2 separate regions of the Homo sapiens genome follow, and region 1 is linked to region 2. The links are contacts of gene promoters, found by promoter capture Hi-C in blood cells and fetal thymus (Javierre and others, 2016). All regions are on one chromosome and are shown on one strand. The core of a region is centred on a gene start or on the middle of the fragment in contact, and the rest is flanking DNA. Distances in the headings are between cores, read along the strand shown. Region 1 holds the start of TSR2 (TSR2 ribosome maturation factor). Region 2 holds the start of RRAGB (Ras related GTP binding B).

Region 1 (6,461 bases), core at 2,426-4,925, 1.3 Mb before region 2:
GTTGCCCAGGATGGTCTCGAACTCCTGGCCTCAAGTGATCTGAGCCATTGCACCGAGTTCTAATCTCCCCTTCTTTATAAGGACATCAGTCATAACGGATTAGGGCCCACCCATGCAACCTCATTTTATCTTAATTACCTTTTTAAAGGCTCTATCTCCCAATACAGTCACATTCTGAGGTACTGGGGGTTAGGGTTTCTACATATGAATTTGGGGGGTGGTGGATACAATTTAGCTCATAACAGCAACCATTACCTCGTCTAATTTTTAGAACATTTTCGACACCCCCAAAAGTAGCCCTGAAGCCATTTAGAAGTCACACTCTATTCTTTCCCCATCCAAGCCCTGGGCAACCATTCATGTATTTTCTGTCTCTATAGATTTACCTATTCTGTATATTTCATATAAATGGTATCATACAATATGTGGTCTTTTTTGACTGGTCGGTAATTATACGTCCTCTTTCGTTCCTGATTTCAGTAATTTGAGTCTTCTTTCTTTTATTTCTTCCTCAGTCTAGCTAAGGGTTTGTAAATTTTGTTGATCTTTTCAAATAACTGACTTGGCCAGTTGCATTTGCTCACACCTGTAATCCCAGCATTTTGAGAGGCGAGGCAGGTGGATCGCTTGAAACCAGGAGTTCAAGACCAGCCTGGGCAACAAAGTGAGACACCCCCTCCCAACACACACACACACACACACACACACACACACACACACACACACAACCACACACACACACACACACACACACTAGCCAGGCATGGTGGCCTATTCCTGTAGTCCCAGCTAATCAGGAGGCAGAGGCAGGAGGATCCTTTGAGCCCAGGAGTTTGAGGCTGCAGTGAGCAATGTTTGTGCCACTGCATTCCAGCCTGGGCAACAAAAAAAGACTTCATCTCTGAAAAAAAAATAACCGCCCAGGTCCGGTGGCTCACGCCTGTAATCCAAACACTTGGGAAGGCTGAGGTGGGCAGCTCACTTGAGGTCAGGAGTTCAAGACCAGCCTGGCCAACATGGTGAAACCCTGTCTCTACTAAAAATACAAAAATTAACGGGGCATGGTGGCATATGCCTGTAATCCCAGCTACTCTGGAGGCTGAGGCAGGAGACTCCTTTGAACCTGGGAGGCAGAGGTTGTAGTGAGCTGAGATTGCACCACTGCACTTCAGCCTGGGTGACAGCACCAGACTCCATCTCAAAACAAACAAACAAACAAACAAAAAACAACAACTGACTTTTGGCTTCACTGTTTTTTCTTTTCTCTATTGTTTTTCAATTCTCTATTTCATTTATTTCTGTTCTATTATTTATTATTTCCTTTCTTATGCTTGCCTTGGGATTACTTTGCTCTTCTTTTTCTGGTTTTGTGAAGTGGAAGTGTAGGTTATTAATTTGATATCATTCTTTCATTTTTTATTTTTTTGAGACAGGGTCTTGCTCTGTCCCCCATGCTGGAGTGCAGTGGCACAATCACGGCTCACTGCAGCCTTGAGCTCCCAGGCTCAAGCAATCCTCCCACCTCAGCCTCCTGAGTGGCTGGTACTACACGCATATGCCACTATGCCCATCTAATTTTGTTTGTTCGTTTGTTTGTTTGAGACAGAGTCTCACTGTGTCGCCCAGGCTGGAGTGCAGTGGAGTGATCTCAGCTCACTGCAACCTCTGCCTACCGGGTTCAAGCGATTCTCGTGCTTCAGCCTCCCAAGTAGCTGGGATTACAGGTGTGTGTCACCATGCCTGGCTAACTTTTGCATTTTTAGTAGAGACAGGGTTTGTTCATATTGACCATGCTGGTCTCAAACTCCTGACCTCAGGTGATCTGCCCACCCAAAGTGCGGGAATTATAGGTGTGAGCCACCATGCCTGGCCTAGTTTTCAAATTTATTTATTTATTTAGTTTGAGACAGAGTCTCACTCTGTTTCCCAGGCTGGAGTGCAATGGCACCATCTCGGCTCACTGTAACCTCCGCCTCCCGGGTTCAAGCCATTCTCCTGCCTCAGCCTCCCAAGTAGCTGGGATTACAGGTGCTTGCCACCAGACCTGGCTAATTTTTGTATTTTTAGTAGAGACGGGGTTTCACCATCTTGGCCAGGCTGGTCTCGAACTCCTGACCTCAAGTGATCTGCCTGCCTTGGCCTCCCAAAGTGCTGTGATTACAAGCGTGAGCCACCACACCTGGCCTAATTTTTAAAATTGTTTTTAGAGATGGGGTCTCACTATGTTGCCCAGGCTGGTCTTGAACTCCTGAGCTCAAGCCATCCTCCCGCATCAACCTCCCAAAGTGCTATGATTACAGGCATGAGCCACCATGTCCGGCTCTTCTTTTTAGATATGCATGTTTACAGCTAAAGATTTCCCTCTAAGTTTTGCTTTAGCTGCATCTCATGCATTTTTTTATGTTTTTGTTTTCATTCATTTAAAAGTGTTTTCTAATTTGCTTTGTGATTTTTTTCTTTGACCCATTTATTGCTTAGGAGTGTGTTAATTTCCATATATTTGTGAATTTTGTAAGTTTCTTTTTACTGATTTTTAACTTCTTTCCATTGTGGTCAGACAACATACTTTGTATGTTCAATCCTGTTAAATCTATGGAGGCCTACTGTATGGCCTAGTGTATGATCTGTTCTGGAGAATGTTCTTGTGTACTTCAGAAAAACATGTACAGTTATCCCTGGGTATCCGTGGGAGACTGGTTCCACGACCTCCGGAGGATACCAAAATTCATAGATGCTCAAGTCCCTGATATAAAATGGCATAGTATTTGCGTATAACCTATGAATATTCTACTGTATACTTTAAATCATTTCCAGATGTGACTCACGCCTATAATCCCAGCAATTTGGGAGGCTGAGGCAAGTGGATTAAACCCAGGAGTTCGAGACCAGCCTGGGCAACATGGCGAAACCCTGTCTCTACTAAAAACACAAAAATTAGCTGGGAGTGGTGGTGGGCACCTGTAATCTCAGGTACTCGGGAGGCTGAGGCACGAGAATTGCTTGAAACCAGGAGACGGAGGTTGCAGTCAGCCGAGATGGCGCCACTGCACTCCAGCCTGGGCCACAGAGTGACACTCGGTCTCAAAAAAATAGATAAATAAATAATTTCCAGGTTACTTATAATGCCTAATAAAGTGTAAATGCTATGTATATAGCTGTTATACTGTACTGTTTAGGAGAATAATGTCAAGAAAAAAAGTATACACATGTTCAATGCAGATGCAATTTTTTCCTGAATATTTTCCATCTGAGGTTAGTTGAATTCACGGACGTGGACTGCCCCCCATAGGGAGAGCTGATTGTATTTTACTGTTGTTGGTTGCAGTATTCTATACAGATGTTAGGATGCTTTTTTTAAATGCAGATTTTTAAGGCTATACTCACTGAGTCCTCTGCCCCAGGGCCTGGAATCTGTATCTGTAATAAGTTCCCCACATATTTCCTCCGCAGTACCCACGGATCCGGAAACCATGGCCCCACACGTCCTTCAGGTCTGGTGTCCTTTGATTTAAGTGAGTAACTCTGGTGGTGTCATCGATCGCTCTGACAGATTTTTCTTTTGCTCTAGTCTTGCTGCCAGGTCTGCGGAAAAGAGAATCCTGTGTTCTCAGGCTCGGCTTGCGTCTCGTTCTGCCTGGGCCGAGCTACAGAGGGATTGGGCCGCCGGGACGTCACGTGGACTGGGGCCGGATAATGGCGGGCGCTGCAGAAGATGCGCGAGCTCTTTTCCGGGCTGGGGTCTGCGCGGCCCTGGAGGCCTGGCCGGCCTTGCAGGTCAGTGGGGCCAGGGCCAGGGCAAGGTCAAGGTTAGGGCCCGGGGCAGAACAGGAGTTGGTTGGGCTAGGTGCCTGAGGCTTGGCTAGGCGGCATAAGAGGAGTTGGCTGGGCGGCGTAAGCGGCCTCCAGGCTACTCCAGGTCTGCTCCCAAGCTGACTTGGTGGGCTTGGACCTGTGTTTACAGATCGCTGTGGAGAATGGCTTCGGGGGTGTGCACAGCCAGGAGAAGGCCAAGTGGCTGGGGGGTGCAGTGGAGGATTACTTCATGCGCAATGGTGAGTGAATGTGAGGCGCCGCGACCCGCCTGTGTGGGGGTGTGGAGAGGAGGAGCCCCATCCCGCAGAGCCTGCATTTCCTCTCGAGCAGTTGTGGATTGGTACCTAAAGGTGAGGTGGAATGAATTCAGCTTTTAGAATCAGAATCCTGGATTCCAGTGCTTTACGGGCTGTACCACTGACTCGTGGGATTACTCTGGACAAGGCAGTTTACCTCCCTGAGACTCAGTTTCCTAGTTTCTAAAATGCGTATAAAAGTATCCACCAGAGCGCTGTACAGTAGAAATATTATGCTAGTCACATATAATTTAAAATTTTTTAGTAGCCACTTTAATAAAGCAAAAAGCAGATGAAATCAATGTTAGTAAACTCGGTGTGTATGAAATATTTCAACATGTAGTCAGTATAAAACATTGAGATATTTTACATTTTTTAGTATTAAGTTTTCAAAATCTGGTATTTTACAGTTTTAGCACATTTCGATTTGGCCTAGCCATATTTCAAGTGCTCAGTAACCACCTGTGGCTGTTTGGACAGCAAAGATCTACACTGTAGGCTCGTCTTGAGGGATATACAAGAACAAGAGGCCCAGTAGAGGGCCTGTTGCATAGTATGGTTTTTAAAAAAATCTTCATTCAATTTCTAGCTTTGGAGATGACATTAGGCAGAGTCATCTCTCTCAAGAAAGTATACTATCCATTGAGGATCCACACACGTAAATAGTTACAACATTGATAGATTTTCTGATAAAGAGGAGCTCAGGGTGCATGGGGTAACAGGATGGGGAGACAGCTTCTTAGTGGAGGTGGTGAATTGGGCTGGGTCTTAGTGAGAAGGAGTTAACTAGGTGGGGGAAGCAGAGAGAGCAACACTCAAGTTCTGTGGCATGAGGGTATAATGTGTTATATTTGGAAAGTAGCAGGGAGCTCAGTATTGGAGTATGGGCGTGTGTGCGTGGGGGGTGGAGGAGTGGTAGAGAATGAAGCTGGGGTGTGGGAAGCCCCCTTGAAAAGCATAAGACATGGAAGCCCTTATGTGCCTTTGATTTTATCATTTAGGCCAGTGTTTGCCAAAATTCATGCTAACTAGTTCTGTTAGATGTTCAGTGAAGAAGCTTCTCCAGTTACCTTATGTAAGAAAAACTCTTGTTCTGCTCCCACTGAAAAGTCTTAACACTCATGAACATATTAAAGGCTTGGGTAAGAATAAGAACCACTAAAAAACCTGTTTGCTTTTGTTTCTCATTAGCTTTCTATGGATAGTGTCCCTTAAGACCCAGCAGAACAGATATTTCTCAAAGGCAAACTGTGAAACACTGCAGTGGCTGGTAAAAATTCGTGGGCAGGTTCTAGGGTGAGAAATAGGATGGGATTTGCTGGCTAGAAAGTTCAGGAAATAATCAGTATGAAGCATAACCTGGAGAGGGAAAGACTGATGAGAACGCTGTTTTTGTCTAGAAACTGATGAGGCCTGAAGTAGGACAGTGGCAACAGGCATGGAAAAGAAGGGGTGGAATAGGGCCTTGGAGATTGGTTGGCTGTAGACAGGGAGGGAAAAAGAGGCAAGTTCCTGGTTTGAGTTGATGGGTGGATTAGGTGTCTTTTCTCGGAGTAGAGGAACCCTGGAGGATGCGAAGCAGGTTTAAAGAGTAAGGTGATGAGTCTGGCTTTAGATATGGAAGATCTGCGGCATCTGTGAAACGTCCAGGCACAGAGTAGTCTCAGTTGGAGATAAATTCGGGGGATATTAAGTTTGAGTGGTAGGGAAAGCCAAGAGTGTGGATGAGCTCTCCCAGAGAAAGCACATAGAGGGGAGAGGGCTAGGAGCTTTGTGGGAGACTTTCTTGAGTTACTGTCTAATTCAGAAAAAGTAGAGCATAGGCCCATAGGTAACTGAAGCCCAGAGAGGAAGGTGGCTCAGTCAGAGTCACACAGTAGGATGTCAGTGTCAAGGCTATGATGATTTCATCATTGGAATTACTATGTCCATTTCTTCTTAACTATCCCATTGGTCTGTGGCTTCTTTTATCAGTGGAACCACAGTTGTGAAGGTTCTCTTCACTTCAAAAACTTCAGCTTTTGCATGATAGAAATTAACATGGATCATGGATCTTCACTGTGCTAGGCATTGTGTTGGATGGTTCCTCATAACAGACCTTTGAGGAGGCCACCATTAGCCCCACTTTACAGATGAGAAAACTGAGGCTCAGAAAGAAGTAGCTTGCTCAAGGTCTCATAGAGGGGAGGCTAGTTAGAATAGTCCAGATGAAAGAGGGTGAGTGTAGGGCTGGGAGTTGTGGAAAGAGGCCTTGGTAGGATGGAAGAGATTGGAAATGAGGTATTAATATTTAGTGGTTCTTTAAAAAATTATGTTAAAACCTGGAATGCAGAACACTTTAGCAGATAAAAG
Region 2 (6,407 bases), core at 2,468-4,967:
ATCTATGCTTATTTGATTTAGTTTCTCAATCCTTTTCCACTACCTTTCTTCCATTCCCTTCCTTCTACCCCTCTTCCTCCTTTTTCCTCTTCTCCTTACCCCTCTATTCCTTCCCTCTTTCCCATCTCCCCACTTCTCCCCCTTTTCTTCTTCATCCCTCCCCTCCCCTTCTTTATCTGTTTCTTCCTCTTCTTACTTCTTGCCTCTTGGCACTTTGAGGCAACTATCAGCAGTTCCTTATGAAGCTTGTGAGGTAGTGAATGTGGGTAGAGAAATATAGCTCGTGAGTTGCTATAGGCCAGATCTTGAAGGTCCTTGTATTGACACACTTTTTCCTTAAGTTATGGGAGGATTTTAAAGTAGAGAAGTAGTCTCCTCCGATTTGTGGTTTAAAAGATTACTCAAGTTGAGGTTGCAGTGAGCCATGATTGTGCCACTGTACTCCAGCTTGGGTCAGAGAGCAAAACCCTGTCTCAAAAACAACAAGAACAACAACAACTACAACGACGATAAAAAGAAATTTGATCGCACCTGTAATCCCAGCACCTTGGGAGGCCAAGGTGGGCAGATCCCTTGAGGCCAGGAGTTTGAGTCTGGCAACAAAGTGAGACCCAGTCTCAACAAAAACTAGTTAATTAATTAATTAAAATAAAGGATCACTTGAGCAGCTTTTAGAGAGGATGGATGGTTTGAAGGAGGGGGAAAAGGATACCAGCAGCAACAGGGAGACAGTATTTTTTTTTTGCTTGCTTTGTCGCCCAGGTTGGAGTGCAGTGGTGCGATCTTGGCTCACTGCAACCTCCGCCTCCTGAGTTCAAGCAATTCTCCTGCCTCAGCCTCCCGAGTAGCTGGGATTATAGGCGCGTGCCACCACACCTGGCTAATTTTTGTAGTTTTAGTACAGATGAGGTTTCACTATGTTGGCCAGGCTGGTATCGAACTCCTGACCTCAGGTGATTCGCCCACTTTGGCCTCCCAAAGTGCTGGGATTACAGGTGTAAGCCACTGCACCTGGCCGAGACAGTACATTTTTATAAAAGAGTGGTTTAAGGGGCCAATTTGGCTGGTGAAGCCCGGGGGCAGTAGGTGTTGGAAGACATATTTGAAAGCTGCCTTTAGAAAGCAAGCACATATTAATTACGTCAAATGTTTTGGGGGATGAGATGACTAATGAAGATCAACTCACTCACTCCCAACCCCTTTGGAGCTGCCACTGTGGGAAAATCACTTAGTAGGCTATTGTGGATATCTAGGCCAGAGATTATGATAGCTGGAACAAAAAGAGTGGCAGTAAGAATAAGAGCAGGCAGGTAGTAGAAAATAGACTGATCATGACCTGGTCTCATTGACACGTATGGAGGGCAGTGAATCTAAGGTGACTTCCTGGTTTGGGACTCAGGATCTTTCATCAGACAAGGAAAGCCAGAATGGAAGCTTGTTTGGGGGTAGTTGGTTGGAAGGAGACAAAAGATTAGCTAGTGATAGAGCGAAGGATCACTAATCAGAGTAGAATAACTTTTTTCTTGAGGCAAGGCAGTTGTGGAGAAAAGGAATCACACAGGACCTCAAGTGGAAAGTGTGGGAGCAGACAGTGTAACTGCCCAACGGGTTCACCTTGCCTGCTGCCTAGACAGAGCTGATTTATCAAGACAGGGGAATTGCAATGGAGAAAGAGTAATTCATGCAGAGCCAGCTGTGGGTGAGACTGCAGTTTTATTACTCAAATCAGTTTCGGGGGATTGAAATTTTTAACAATAATTTGGTGGGTAGGGGCTTGGGAAGTGGGGAGTGTTGACTGGTCAAGTTGGATATGGAATCATAGGGGGCTCTAAGTGAGTTTTTCTTGCTATCTTCTGTTCCTGGGTGGGATCGCAGAACTGGCTGGGCCAGATTACTGGTCTGGGTGCTGTAAGTGAAACGAGGGAAGTTCCCCTATCCCCCTTGCAGGGCATGCCACAGCGGGAGTGGCTCACTGCTTCACAACCTCTAGGGGGAGCATGCAGAGGGGCAGGCTGTGGGGCTCCGACCCCATGGCAACCTCTAGGGGTGAATATAACATTTGGGTGGGAAGGCAGGAGTGCCTATCCTCACCTAGGTCCATGGGCACAGGCCCCAGGGTGGAGCCCTAGCCACGGACCCGCCTTTCTCTGCCCAGCACTTTCCTGCCCCGCTCCTGTATCATAAGCTGGTGCATCTGAATGCAGGGTCTGCAAAACATATCAAACAGTGATCTTAGGTTTTAAAACAGTGATGTTATTCCTGGGAGCAATTTGGGGAGGTTCAGACTCTTGCAGCTGGAGGCTGCATGGCCCCTGAATTGTAATTTCTAATCTTGTAATCTTGTGGCTAATTTGTTAGTCCTGCAAAGGCCGACTGGTTCCCAGGTAAGAAGGTTTTTTTGTTTTTTTGTTTTTTTTTAGTGGGGGGCAGCGGGAGGGAGAAAGGGCTATTATCAATTTTGTATCAGAGTTAAACTATAAACTAAATTCCTTCCCAAGGTTAGTTCGGCCTACGCCCAGGAATGAACAAGGACACCTTAAAGGTTAGATGTAAGATGGAGTCGGTGAGGTCTGATCTCTTTCACTGTCATAATTTCCTCAGTTACAGTTTTTGCAAAGGCAGTTTCAATAATAGTACTCTGTTTCCTGCAGTTTCTCTTCCTTCCTTCCCTTTTTTTCTTATCAAAGTAATATATGTACACACTTACGTGTAAATAATACATGTAGTATATCATATATTAATTATAAATAATATAATTAAACTACACATTTATTTAAAATAACATATTTATAACATATTATTTAAGTATTAGTTGATTATATTAAATATAATTAAATGTCATATTAATCTTATTATTATATATCATTTATACATTATAGAAATATATATAGCACAGAAGGGCTTCAGATAAAAAATAATAGTCCCCTGACATATCACGTCCTATCCCCTACCCCATTCTCCAGAAGGAACATCTTTGAACCCCTCTGGGCATTTTTCCTGGTGTGCATATCCCTACCAGTAGTCTTTCTGTTCTCAATTCTAGACTTCACTTATTTACAGATGGGGTCTCGCTATGTTGGCCAGGTTGGTCTTGAACTCCTGGCCTCAAGTGATCCTCCCTCCCCAGCCTCCCAAAGTGCTGGGATTAAAGGCATGACCCACCACTCCCAGCCCTAGACTTTATTTATTGACTTCTTACTATGGTACTTCCTTCACTTCCTGTTTTAAACAAGTGGGAAGATGAATGTGTGTGTTAAAATTCCTGATGAATCCCTGGTTTCAGCAATAACGATAATTTATACAGTATTTGCTATGTGGAAGACACAGTTCTAAGCGCTTTGGATGTATTAATCATTTAATTACAAACTCGATTGCAAGAATTAACAATAAAAAGCAGGAAGGCAAAGACAATGCTCGGTCTTCCCAGTCAAAAACCATTACCGGTAACCAGCAGTAAAAAAGAGAAGCTCAGAGGCACTGAAATTGCAACCGGCTCCTTTAATTCTCCATAGCGGATGGGTGGGGCCAGGCCCACCCACATTAGAGAGGCTGAAGGCTCCCAGCGCCCTACCCCGCCCGAGGGGCGGAGCCTGAGCCAAGGCCACGTGATGATGACAGACGGCACTCTGGCTTTCCTGGAGCTGTCTCTATGGTATTCTTCCCAGCCCACCCGTCCCTTTGGTAGCGGCAGTCACGTGACAGACTCCGGGGTAAGGCAGATGCCCACGTGATCCTGGCCTGCAGTTGGGTGGCTGCGGTGAGATACCTGGGTTCCTGAAGGGCGGGTGGTTAGGTCGTAACTACTGCCCCCGCCGGCTGACTCTCCGAGCGGCCGGGCTCGGAAGCCACGAGCCAGCTGAGGCGTTCTCCGCTTAGTGCCTACGGCATGGGTCAGCTCTTTCTGCCACCTCCGCCTTCGCGGTCCTCACCTCTTTGCGGGTGAAGTTACCTTTGGGTTTCCAGACCTTGGGGGCCTGAGGCCCAAACTCGGGACGAACCCCTAACCCACCTCTCTTTTCCTGTCATTCTCCAACTCTTACTTTGTACCACGGAATCACTTGGCCTTAAAGCTAGCCAGCTCGGCCGTGCCTTGAGGCCAGGTTCGAGAGATAAAGGTAACCGTGGGGAAAGCGGCCCCCCAGTGGACAAAGGCGGAGGCAAGAATAGAGCAGGCCTGAGGGCCATAGGCGATGAGAATAGGCAGTTGAGGGGTGAAAAAGAAAACAAACAAACAACAACAACAAACCCTGAAGAGTACTGAAGATTTAGAAGGGACTGGAAAGGACTTGTTGCGCAATGGAAGAATCTGACTCTGAGAAAACGACGGAGAAAGAAAATCTGGGGCCGAGAATGGATCCACCACTAGGGGAACCGGAAGGATCGCTTGGGTGGGTGAAGGGTATTTGTGAAACCTGGAAGTGGGGGTGTTCAAATTGAAGAGAGTATTGTGAATTAGAACACTTCTCCCCACCCCGCACCATGATAAATTGCTTTGATTTACCAGTAATGTTGATTGGGATTATGCTTTGGACGACAGGATAAACTGGAAAGCGAATTGGTGCTAACTGATCAGAAACAACCCTTGGGAAGGGGCTGATATTCCTGGTGGTGGTGCTGGGGGAGTGTTCTAATTAAAGCAGTTATGAGTTGCTTTGAATTATCAGTAAAGGAGATTTGCTGTCACCAGGTTGGGGATGGAAAGACTAGAAAGAAGATTTGCATTTCCAGGTCAGAGCTTGAGGGTGTTTTCTGTGCCAATTTGTACCTGAATTTGAGACTTACATCTACTTTGTGTCTGTGATGAGTGAAATAGGGCTTGGAAGGACAGCTGAAGGACTAAAAAGATACTTCCAGATTTTAAAATTAGGAGGCTGAATGTTTTTTATACATAGAAGATATTCAATACTCAGTCCTCAAGTAGAGGATATCAATATATTCTGTTTTTTTAGAAATAGAAGATATTGTTTGATTAAAGCAGCTGTGTTGCTTTGATTAAGATGATGAAAAATTGAATCTTGAATTTTAATGGCTCATTTGTATTCCTAAATAAATCTTCCTAGGAGTTCTCTCTTGAACTTCTAATTAGGAGATAGAGAGTATACACACAGTTTTATAATTTAGGAAAATGGGACCTCTATTCATCTGAGGTCCCACACACACAGCTGTACTCAGCCGTTGTACTAAACATGCTCTTTTGTACCTCCATGTTTATTTATACTTCATTAATTTCAATTTCTAAGGGAATTGGATCATGGAAACTGTTTTTTGGTTTATATCTGCAGGTGGGTGCTACCAAATACAGCCATGAAGAAAAAGGTAAGACGTGTTAGATACGTCAAAACCATGAAGGTAAAGGTAAGAAGTTGATATTCAGGAACTTTGTGACATATATACACCATCTTTTCTGGACTATTGCAGGAGCCTTCTGTGTGGTCTGTCTGACTCTCTTCTCCTTGTATGCTATCAGATTTAATTTTTCTAATATGAAAATCCGACTGAGTCATCTACATACTTAAGAACCTTTAGTAACTTCTTTAAGCCCATGGAATAAAATCCAAATGATTTCATGGCCCTTTAAAATCTGTTCCTGACCAAACCCTGTGCCACACTTATGCACCCTATCACAGCCCTACAGAATTTATTGTTCTCCAGATTTACAAATTAATTTGCACTTTGTGTAAGCCATATACACACACCATACAGGCCTCTGTCTGCACATTTATTTTTAACCTAACTCAAGTGTTACCACTATAAGGTCTTATTGAGTTCTTCAGATAGAATTGGACACACCTTCCTTTGTGCTCTCATAGTACTGTGCCCTACGTTGGGGTTTAGGCAGAATTGCTAAGAGTGCAGCTCAAGCTAATTTCTTAACCTTTTGGGGCTTCAGTTTCCTCATTTGTAAAATGGTAGTAATAATATTAACTGTATCGTAAGATTGTTGTGACGTTTAAATTAGTAAATGCCTGTAGAACACTTAGATCAGTACCTAACATGATTAGCCTTGGTAAGTCTTTCATAGGCAATTGAAAGAGGTACACTGTATAAATTAATAACCGAAGGAAATGTACCATATTTAGCCTTAGCTTCATCTAATAATTCAGTTCTGTAACTACAGTTTGCTAAGAGAATGTTCTTGATGAGCCTGTCTGAAGTTGCTTTCATTGAGAATGCCTAAAAGTACAGAAATTTCTACATGATTAAGAACAAAAATTAGCTTGATTTAATCATTCTGCATTGTATACATATATCAAACATTGCATTGTACCTCCTAAATATAAAGAGTTATTGTTTTTCAATTAAAATTTTAAAGTACAAAAGCAAACTTTTTGTAGCAACTTTAGACTGGCTCAGCAGTGGCATTTCCTTAGTGAGATAAAGTTATATAGCTACATTTTTAGATTAAA

What was found. The method cuts DNA at HindIII sites, captures the fragments that hold promoters and counts their contacts. A CHiCAGO score of 5 or more calls a contact.
Region 1: a contact is called between the fragment with the promoter of TSR2 here and the fragment with the promoter of RRAGB in region 2, in 1 of 17 cell types (fetal thymus). The highest score is 6.5, in fetal thymus.

The regions. Positions count from the first base shown.
Region 1 is chrX:54,436,729-54,443,189 of GRCh38, forward strand. It overlaps TSR2 (TSR2 ribosome maturation factor), which reads left to right and starts at 3,676. Exons shown (of 5, transcript NM_058163.3): 1 at 3,676-3,774; 2 at 3,962-4,052. The coding sequence starts at 3,694. RefSeq lists an enhancer at 3,394-3,443. The HindIII fragment of the contact is 25,574 bases long and covers 1-5,164 here.
Region 2 is chrX:55,714,032-55,720,438 of GRCh38, forward strand. It overlaps RRAGB (Ras related GTP binding B), which reads left to right and starts at 3,718. Exons shown (of 10, transcript NM_006064.5): 1 at 3,718-4,388; 2 at 5,283-5,316. The coding sequence starts at 4,297. RefSeq lists enhancers at 3,847-4,046, 4,207-4,336. The HindIII fragment of the contact is 6,209 bases long and covers 1,433-6,407 here.